Linked DNA regions of Homo sapiens: regions 2 and 3 are each linked to region 1. The links are contacts of gene promoters, found by promoter capture Hi-C in human tissues and cell types (Jung and others, 2019). All regions are on one chromosome and are shown on one strand. The core of a region is centred on a gene start or on the middle of the fragment in contact, and the rest is flanking DNA. Distances in the headings are between cores, read along the strand shown. Region 1 holds the start of ITGB2 (integrin subunit beta 2). Region 2 overlaps MCM3AP (minichromosome maintenance complex component 3 associated protein). Region 3 holds the start of AGPAT3 (1-acylglycerol-3-phosphate O-acyltransferase 3).

Region 1 (3,159 bases), core at 329-2,828:
TGCCTAGGCTGGTCTCGAACTCCTGGGCTCAAGTGATCCTCCCACCTCGGCCTCCCAAAGTGCTGGGATTACAAGTTTGAGCCACCATGCCCAAAATAAAGATTTGTCATATTTTTTTTCAGGTATATACATGCTATTTTTATTCTTAAGGAGACTCTTGAATTGTTAGCATATATACTTAGATATTTTCTATCAAAATGCCCACTGACAAGCATCTATATTCCTCCCCAGATAGGATGGAACGGCAATGTGCTCCCTGGCCCCTCCCAACCCAGTCCTCTAGGCGTTTTGTTTCACAGCGTTAATATTCTTACCACTATTTTTTAAATCAACAGGTTATGACATCATAATTTTTACTTATTTCTTTGCCCAACTTTGTATCATCTGCTCTTGTATTTCTCATGGATTTCTTCATGTCTATTTCTGCAAGACATCTTTAAAACAGAGTTTAGGAGCCGGGAGCCATGGCTCACGCCAGTAATCCCAGCACTTTGGAAGGCAGAGGTGGATGGATCACTTGAAGCCAGGAGTTCAAGACCAGCCTGGTCAACATAGTGAAACCCTGTCTCTACTAAGAATACAAAAATTACCCAGGCGTGGTGGTACATGTGCCTGTAATCCCAGCTACTTGGGAGGCTGAGGCAGGAGAATTGCTTGAACCCGGGAGGCAGAGGTTGCAGTGAGCTGAGATCACGCCACTGCACTCCAGCCTGGGTGACAAAAGCAAAACTCTGTCTCAAAAAAAACTGAAAACATAAAAATAAATAAATAAATAAAACAGAGTTTAGGGTAGTAATGTGTCTGAGTCCTTGCTCTGAAGATGTCTGATTTGGGTTTTTTTTCTAGGTATAATCTCTTTCCCTCCTCTTCCTCCTCCTCCTCCTCTCCCTTCTCTCTCTCTCTGAGCCTGTAGTATTTTCCCTTTCGTGTTCTGTGGTATCCTCCTAATGTCCCTAGTTAACAGGACCTCATCCATCCATCCCTGGGGTGTTCAGTGGCCTCGCAATCCACGTCCCCGCCCAGATCCGCAGCCTTCCTCCTGTGACCTGAGTGTCTCCTCCTCGCTGTCCCTGTTCTGTCCCCTCCCGCCCTCACATGCAGGTGGATGTCAATGCGTGCACGCACCCAGGTTTTCTTGCCTGTTCCCACCTCTTTATCCTCCTTGGCTGGTTCCTCCGCTCCATTCTCTGGCTCAGGAATTTGCTCCCCAGGGTTTTTCATTCCGCTCTGTAGCAGAATGTGCTACTGTTGCTTTCCAGCATCAAACTTTTCACTCCCATGGCCTCTGTGTTCTTCTTCCTAATGGGTGCCCTTTCTGCCTGGCGCTCCTGGAGGCCGGGCCCCTCTCCCAAGTGTGAATCTGATGGAAGCAGGTCCTTCTCGCCGGGACCTCATGTGAGAAATGACATGTCCCACCTGTCTCAAGGGGCCGCTCTCTGACATCAGAGCTGCTGTAGAGCGGAGAGGGGCAGGGGTGAAGGGCCACGGTGGTGCAACCCACCACTTCCTCCAAGGAGGAGCTGAGAGGAACAGGAAGTGTCAGGACTTTACGACCCGCGCCTCCAGCTGAGGTTTCTAGACGTGACCCAGGGCAGACTGGTAGCAAAGCCCCCACGCCCAGCCAGGAGCACCGCCGAGGACTCCAGCACACCGAGGGTGAGTGTGCAGAGGCCCCGCTATGTCCACGGTGATTTTTGGAGGGAAGCACTCTCCTGCCCCAGCCTGGAGTGACCCTGGTGGCCCTGCTTATAGCCCCGGCCCAGGGGTGTCTGGCAGGAAGGGGTCTCCAGACCGTCTGCTCCAGGGTCCCCTTTGAGACCCGGCAAGGGGAAGTGCCTGCCACCAAGAGCAGAGCCACATGGTGTGCTGGGAGCGCTTGCGGCTGAGGATGGGGCCGGCATGGGAGGACAAGGGGCTGTGAGGCCGGCAAGGCCAGGAAGAGGCTGGGCCCACAAGCCCCTAGGGGGACGGCTGGGGGGTCCTGGTGCTCCGGGCTGGGCAGGAGGCAGGTTCCCGGGGCCTCCTCTGTGAACCTGCTGCGCCTGCCTGTGTTAGGCCCTCCTGTCTGCATGCTGCCCCGCCTGGCTACAGCGATTCCATCTCCAGATCGACTCGCAGTGTGTGGTGTGTGATATGGTGTGGTGTGGTTCGTGGTGTGTAGTGTCGTGTGTGTAGTGTGGCATGGTGTGCATGTATGGTGCACGTGTGTGGCATAGCGTAGTGTGGTGTGTGTGTGTGCATGTATGGTGTGCGAGTGTGCGCATGTGATGTGGGGAGTCTGTTGTATGTACATGTATGGTGCACATGTGTAATGTAGTGTGGTGTGGTGTGGCACATGCTCCATGCTCCTCTGGGACCCTCGAGCTTCCCTGCCTCCTCCGTGGGGACCCCTGGGTGACGTCTTGCTGTAGGGGAGCGGGCACCGCTGTGCGATTCTGGTCGAGTTGGTTCAGCTGGTGACCCTGGCCTCCCCACAACAGGCTCCTGGAGGCCATTCCCAAGGTCCTGGTGGGAGGGGGATTGAAGCCACGCCCCTGGGTCCCAGGCCCACCTGGCCCCCTTCCCCCAACACTGCACTCTTGGGGCCAGCCCTCCCCATGCATCCTCCACCCCTGGCACCACCCCTTGCACCACCGTCCCCACACCCAATCCCCCCTCCCCTGGATCTGGGAGCTGGGATTCTGCCCTGCTGTCCCTGTCCATCCGGGGCCCCTCTCCTCTGTCAGTTCCTGGGTGGGGAGAAGGAGGGGTGGCATGGCTGCAATGGGGAAGGGGGGGGATGGCCGGAGAGCTCAGCCTGGGAGCGAGCTGTGGGGGCATAGGGGACACTCGCTGTCACTCGCCTTCCCCGTGACGGTGGCGCAACGCCTGCGGGTTTGGGGGCTGAGGCCGGATTCTGGAGGCTTCACAGAAATGAGCTGCTAGAAGCTCTGGGCTGTCTGCCGTCACCCCAGCGTTTCACCATGAGTGAAGCCCAGCTCACTGCAGAATCCATGCCCAGCTCACTGCAGAATCCCCGGGGGCCAGCACTTTACCAAGAGTGGCCTCCAGACTCCACATTTTAGGAAGGAACTCCTTCCCCATCCAGCTCACAGCAGAATCCCCAGGGTCCCTGCCAGCCTGGCACCCAGCGTGCCCCTCAGTATTCTGGGGATGAGT
Region 2 (3,159 bases), core at 1-2,500, 1.3 Mb before region 1:
GGGAAACCTGCTCCCAGGAGTTGAAGTAAGTGAAACGCTGGTGTCTTGCTGTGCCAGGAGAGTGAGCTTTGGCTCTGCCCTAGGCTGTGTCTTGCACCACTGAGGATGGGCTATTGGAAATGGATCTTGCCTGTCTAAGCTACTTTGATTTTGTGACCAAATGTATTTGATGCAGTCCTCTGTGCTCCCTTGGCTAATAGAATTTTATTATAAAAAATTCTCTTTTATATGAGGGCTGCCACCACATGATCATAGTCAGCCATCCTTATTAGCCACTGGCATTTATCATATATTTGAGACACTTCCAATTGATTGCACAAGTCAGATGTTGCTGATGAGAAGATTTTGTGGTTGTCTGCATGGTAATTTACAAATTCTACGCCAGGCACCTGTAGTCCCAGCAACTCAAGAGACTGAGGTGCAAAGATCACTTAAGCTCAGAAGTTCCAGGTAGTGTGCTATGACTGCACCTGTGGTGGCCACTGTACTCCAGCCTGGGCAACATAGTGAGACCCTGTCTCTAAAATAATTAAAAATTCTGACTATTTTATTAAGATAAAGGTTTATTTCTTAACTGTTACGAGGGCCCCTATGGACCTATAATTTGGCACCCTGTTCCACTTAATTCTTTTTACCCTGTCTTTCTAGGTGTCTGTAGTTTAAGTATTAAAGCTTCTTTTACAATGAAGATAGAATTACATTTTAATACTGAGGATGCAGACTCTTGCACTTTTTTTTTTTAAAGACGGAGTCTTGCTCTGTCGCCCACACTGGAGTGCAGTGGCGTGATCTGGGTTCACTGCAACCTCTGCCTCCTGGGTTCAAGCGATTCTCCTAGCTCAGCCTCCCAAGTAGCTGGAATTACAGGCATGCACCGCCATGCCCAGCTAATTTTTTTTTTTTTTTTTTTTTTGAAATGGAGTTTTACTCTGTTACCCAAGCTGGAGTGCAGTGGTGCCATCTCGGCTCACTGCAAGCTCCGCCTCCCGGGTTCACGCCATTCTCAGCCTCCTGAGTAGCTGGGACTACAGGAGCCTGCCAATATGCCTGGCTAATTTTTCATATTTTTAGTAGAGACGGGGTTTCACCGTGTTAGCCAGGATAGTCTCGATCTCCTGACCTCGTGATCCGCCTGCCCTGGCCTCCCAAAGTGCTGGGATTACAGGCATGAGCCACCGTGCCTGGCCGCCAGCTAATTTTTTGTATTTTTAGTAGAGACGGGGTTCTACCATGATGGCCAAGCTGGTTTCGAACTCCTGACCTGAAGTGATTTGCCTGCTTTGGCCTCGCAAAGAGCTAGGATTACAGGTGTAAGCCACTGTGCCTGGCCGACTCTTGCACTTTTCTTTTTTTTTTTTTTTTGAGACGGAGTCTCGCTCTGTCGTCCAGGCTGGAGTGCAGTGGCGCGATCTCTGCTCACTGCAAGCTCTGCCTCCCGGCTTCACGTCATTCTCCTGCTTCAGCCTCCCGAGTAGCTGGGACTACAGGCGCCCGCCACCACACCAGGCTAATTTTTTTGTATTTTTAGTAGAGACAGGGTTTCACCATGTTAGCCAGGATGGTCTGGATCTCTTGACCTCATGATCCACCCGCTTCGGCCTTCCAAAGTGCTGGGATTACAGGCGTGAGCCACCGCGCCTGACTGACTCTTGCACTTTTCAAGCAAGCCCTCAGTGTCTGTGGGCCCCAAGTGCAGTGTCTTCCATGCTGATTGCCCTGTTTCTAGGAATGCAGTAGAGACAGACCAGAGGGTCCGTGTGGCCCGTTGCTGTGAGGATGTCTGTGCCCACTTAGTGGACTTGTTTCTCGTGGAGGAAATCTTCCAGACTGCAAAGGAGACCCTCCAGGAGCTTCAGTGCTTCTGCAAGTATCTACAGCGGTGAGTCCTGTGTTCCTACAGGCAAAATCCACACACACGGGGAAGAGTCTTTTAACAAATTCAAAATATATGAGCTATTAGTTTCTGTATTCAGTGGTAAAAGGATGAGGGAAAATGTTATAGCAATGAATACCTAAAATAGACTAATTGGATTATACTGCATTTCAGAAATACTTGATTACACACACACACACACACACATACAATATAAGGGGAAAAGTCAGGAGTTAGATTGGGACGTGGTGGCTACTCTGTATGTCAACTGATATTTATAGGGTGCCTGCCATTTGCCCACTGCACTAGGTGCTGGGAGACAGCTATGAACAAGCCAGATTATGGCTGCATGCACCAATAAGGGTGAATTCTCAAAATATAAGTAGTGGAGAAAAAGCAATTAATAGGGAATATACAAATAGTGTATATTCAAACTAAATAGGTTGTTTCAGATTTATATATAGTGGTATAACCCTAAAGAAAAGAAGGAAAATAATGATCATAATCTCAGCATAGTGGTTACTTTTGGGAATGGGAGGTGGTGCCTCTCATGGCCACAACTTCTCAACTGGGTGTAAGTGCACAGGTGCTTGATGATTTATTAATCTTATAACTGGGCATATATGTGTTACGTATGTTGTATGATTCATTTCATAATAAAATTTAAAATCAGTAATAGTGTCCTTGGTAGTTGGAACAGTATAAAAGGGAGTATGGGGAGAAGTGAGTCTTCCTTCTACAACAGACCCCTGTCCATTGTGCGAGCAGCAGCTGCTTGCGAAACCATCCAGAGACTTTCTGTCCTTTCTTGTGGCTCTTGGCACAGATGGGCTCATGATCCCTGCTTTGCTCTGAGCCTTCCTTTGCTCCATCTGATATGAGGTGGAGGCTTGGCTGTAGCAGCATGCTGAGCTGTCCCCGTTGCCAGTGGTCTTGAGGTCAGTGCGATAATGTACCATAAATGACCTTCCTGGTCTTCTGTTGATGGACTTTCATGTGGCTCTTTTTTTTTTTTTTTTTGAGATGGAGTCTCACTCTGTCGCCCAGGCTGGAGTGCAGTGGCGCAATCACAGCTCACTGCAACCTCCACCTCCCAGGTTCAAGTGATTCTTCTGCCTCAGCCTCCTGAGTAGCTGGGACTACAGGCGTGCGCCACCATGCTCGGCTAATTTTGTTTTTTTTATTTTTAGTAGAGATGGGGTTTCACCATATTGGCCAGGCTGCTCTCGAACTCCTGACCTCGTGATCCGCCCGCCTCGGCCTCCCAAAGTGCTGGGATTACAGGC
Region 3 (3,159 bases), core at 446-2,945, 1.1 Mb after region 1:
CTTTCCCACCCGGCCACACTGCCTTTAACCCAGCAGTCTTCAGGCTGCTGCAGCGCGTCCCCCTGGCAGATACGCCAGGACAGGGCCACGCACAGGTAGGGTGACCACAGAGGGCGGCCACTCCATGAAGTCACCTTCAGAATATTTAAGGCCCCTACACCTTCTAAGGCCAAGGGGCCCTGTTCTGTCTGAATGTCAATGGCATGCAGCTGCTTTTTAGACAATGTCCTCAAGAAGATACTTAAGACTAACCAGAAATGGATACAAGAAGCGAGTTGTAACAGGCACAGGCTAACGCCGAACTCTGTGGGGGAGGAGGATTGGTTGGAAAGAGGGAGGGGGGGCGGCAAAGAAGTGGCCAAATCAAGAGAGTGCTCAGCATCCTCGGGAGACCCCTCTGAAGCTTTCAAACTGAGAAGACGAAGTTCAGCAATTCCTAAGCGAGTCGAGTCGGAGCAGCCGCGCCTGCAATTTAAAAGCTGCAGGATCCTGGGTCCCTCTAGCAGCCTGGGCCCGCCGCCCGCCCCACCTCCCAGCCCCCAGCAGGCTCTCGGCGTTGGCTTTCATTTTTAATAAGAGCCGCATGCTCATCACCCTCTGTCTGGAGGCCAACAGCCCACATCTTTCTTCTACTAAGATCATGTTTCCCAGGAAAAAGAACCCAACTGCTCAAGTATTCTCCTAGACAAAGCTTTTAAAATTGTGCTTTTTTTTTTTTAAAGGTCTGGGAAGCCATTTATAAAAGCATTTTCCCCATGTCACTAAACTTCTCTCAAAGTTAAAAAAAAAAAAAAAAACACTGCACCATTTTTAACTGCCTTCAAATACTAATAACCCTCCTTTCCTAAGTACTTGGGACCAATGTTCCAAGGGTCCTGGGGTGGCCAGGAGTGGGTTTTCGCCCCCACGGCTCTTGCCCCCGGACTGACCCCATCCCCTGACCCGCCCGGTGCAAACGCGCCGCCGGTCTCCGGGCCGAACCCACAGCCAACCCCGGGCCCCGCAGCCCTCCCCGCGCGGAGCGGCAAAAGTGAAACTGCTCCCTTGGCCTGGGCGCGCGAGGAGGAGGCCCCTGGGGGGGGTCCCGGGTCCGCCGCGCCCCGAAACCAGGCGGCGGGCGCGTCCTGTCCACGGGGGAGCCGAGCGGGGCCCGGAGCAGAGTCCAGGACGGAGGGATGGGACGTCCCCGCGGGAACCCACTCGCCCTCCCTCGGCCCGGCCCGGGCCCCTCCCGGGCGCCCCGAACCCCCGGGCCTCCCCGCTGGGCCCAGCGCCACCGAGGCTGCTGCGGGAAGCGGCCGGGGCCTCGCGCTGGACCAGGCCGCCGGGGAGGCCGGGGTTGCGGGGGGCGCACAGGACCCGGGCCCAGACCTCCTCCCGGCCCCGCGCCTTCCCAGGCCCCGCGCCCCGCGGAGCGCGGCCGGCCCATTGCGGCGCGGGGCCCCGGGCGGCCCGAGGTCGGACGGCTGGGGCAGGGGCGACCTCCGGCGGCGGGAGGGCGACCTCGGGCGGCGGCGGGGCGTGGGGGAAGAGGGGGGCGGCCCGACCTCGGGTGGGGGCCTCGGTGCTCACCTGCAGCCGCCGCCACCTGCTCGTCGCGCGGGCGTCCCCGGCGTCGCCTCCGCGGCCCCGCTCTGGCCGCCGCGCTCCTCGGCCCTGGGCCCGGCCCGGCCCTGCGTCGGGGCCTCAGCGAGTGCGGCGCCCGCCGCCCCCGGCCCCCATCCCGCCGCCCTCCGCCCTCCGCCCTCGGCCGCGCCGCCGCCGCCACTTCCTGTGCGCGGCGATCCCACAGTTCCGCCGGCGCGCGCGGGGCGGCCGAGGGACACGCTGGGGGGACACGGGGGAAGGACGCGGGGGGGGACGCGGGGGGACGGCGCGGGGGGGGACGCGGAGGGGACACGGGGGCGACACGGCGGGACACGCGCGCGGAGAGAGGTGTGGGCCGAGGGCGCCGGCGGGGCCGGGCGCGGAGCCTGCGTGGGATCCGCTAACGGACGGGGCTGGGGCCCGGGCTGGGGGAGGGGGCGGGCCGGGACCGCGGGGGGCGCGGGGATCAGGGGGGTCGGGGCTGAACGGGGGGAGGCGGCGAAGGACCAGGCTGGGGTCCCGCGAGGGCTCCCCCGGACCGGGTCGGGGGCAGAGGGGGCCGGGGCGCGGGGTGGGGCCGGGAGGGGCCTCCGAGCTCTGCCTGGGCCCCGCCATCTCCCCTGCCGGGGTCTCCTGCGGGCGCCGGGGAAGTTTCGCGCGCGAGCTCCTGCCCTGGTCGGCCGGGGCTTAGGGTCGCCGTCAGGGGTCGCCGCGCGGCGGGCTCGGTGGGGACGGCCCTGCGCGCAGCGGCTCCGCGGAAGGATCGCGTTTCGGCCCACGTGCCGCGCCCTTGGACTTATTCATAGTTGGCACCCGGCTGGCAACACTGTATCGACACTTGACCGTGGCGGGGGTGGGGGTCGCCCCGGGGCTGCCCTGCGAACCCCCGCGGGCGCTGACGCCGTCCCCTCCAGACCGCGGAGCCCTCTCAGCCCCAGGACAGCGGCTGCCGTCCCCCCTCCCTTGCACCTGGCCAGCGGCCGATCCCAGAACCTGCGGAGGCCGCGCAGGTGCCGCTGTCAGGGCAGGGCCCGCTGCGGGCTCCGCCTCCTGCGCCCGGTACCTTGTGTGACCTGGCGCCTGCTCAGGTCCTCAGGCCCCGGCTGGACTTGCTGAGCTTGGGTGGGCTTCATTTGAAAACCATTTAAAATACCAAGTACTGGTACTGTCTACTGTGCCCCTTTTTTTCCTTTTTTTTTTTTTTATTTTTATTATTATTGAGACAGGGTCTTGCTCTGTCGCCCACCCTGGAGTGCAGTGGTACAATCATAGCTCGCTGAAGCCTTGAACTCCAGGGCTCAAGTGATCCTCCCACCTCAGCCTCCCAAGTAGCTGGGACCACAGGCACACACCACCATGTCTGGCTAATTTAAAAAAAATTTTTTTTGTAGAAATGGGGCCTCACGGTGTTGCCCAGGCTGATCTCGAACTCCTGAGCTCAAGTATTCTCCCACCTCCTCCTCTCAAAGTGCTGGGATTACAAGTATGAGCCCCCGCACCCAGCTTGCACCTCCCTTTAAGCCTCCTCAAATTATTTCAGAAAATACTTAGACTAAAATAAAATGAAAGTAC

Evidence for each region. The method cuts DNA at HindIII sites, captures the fragments that hold promoters and counts their contacts. A contact is called where the count stands out against the background at its distance.
Region 2: a contact is called between a fragment that was not itself captured here and the fragment with the promoter of ITGB2 in region 1, in 1 of the 25 tissues and cell types used here (heart right ventricle).
Region 3: a contact is called between the fragment with the promoter of AGPAT3 here and the fragment with the promoter of ITGB2 in region 1, in 1 of the 25 tissues and cell types used here (spleen).

Annotation. Positions count from the first base shown.
Region 1 is chr21:44,919,318-44,922,476 of GRCh38, reverse strand. ITGB2 (integrin subunit beta 2) reads left to right here and starts at 1,578. Exons shown (of 16, transcript NM_000211.5): 1 at 1,578-1,656. ITGB2-AS1 (ITGB2 antisense RNA 1) reads right to left here and starts at 1,442. Exons shown (of 3, transcript NR_038316.1): 1 at 1,150-1,442. RefSeq lists a silencer at 2,928-2,987. The HindIII fragment of the contact is 46,650 bases long and covers 1-3,159 here.
Region 2 is chr21:46,257,659-46,260,817 of GRCh38, reverse strand. MCM3AP (minichromosome maintenance complex component 3 associated protein) reads left to right here. Exons shown (of 28, transcript NM_003906.5): 15 at 1-25; 16 at 1,727-1,879. Among named protein-coding and RNA genes, the nearest start is that of MCM3AP, 26 kb to the left of the region's middle. The HindIII fragment of the contact is 8,306 bases long and covers 1-3,159 here.
Region 3 is chr21:43,863,759-43,866,917 of GRCh38, reverse strand. AGPAT3 (1-acylglycerol-3-phosphate O-acyltransferase 3) reads right to left here and starts at 1,695. Exons shown (of 10, transcript NM_020132.5): 1 at 1,573-1,695. RefSeq lists silencers at 937-1,256, 1,377-1,726, 2,277-2,636. The HindIII fragment of the contact is 11,781 bases long and covers 1-3,159 here.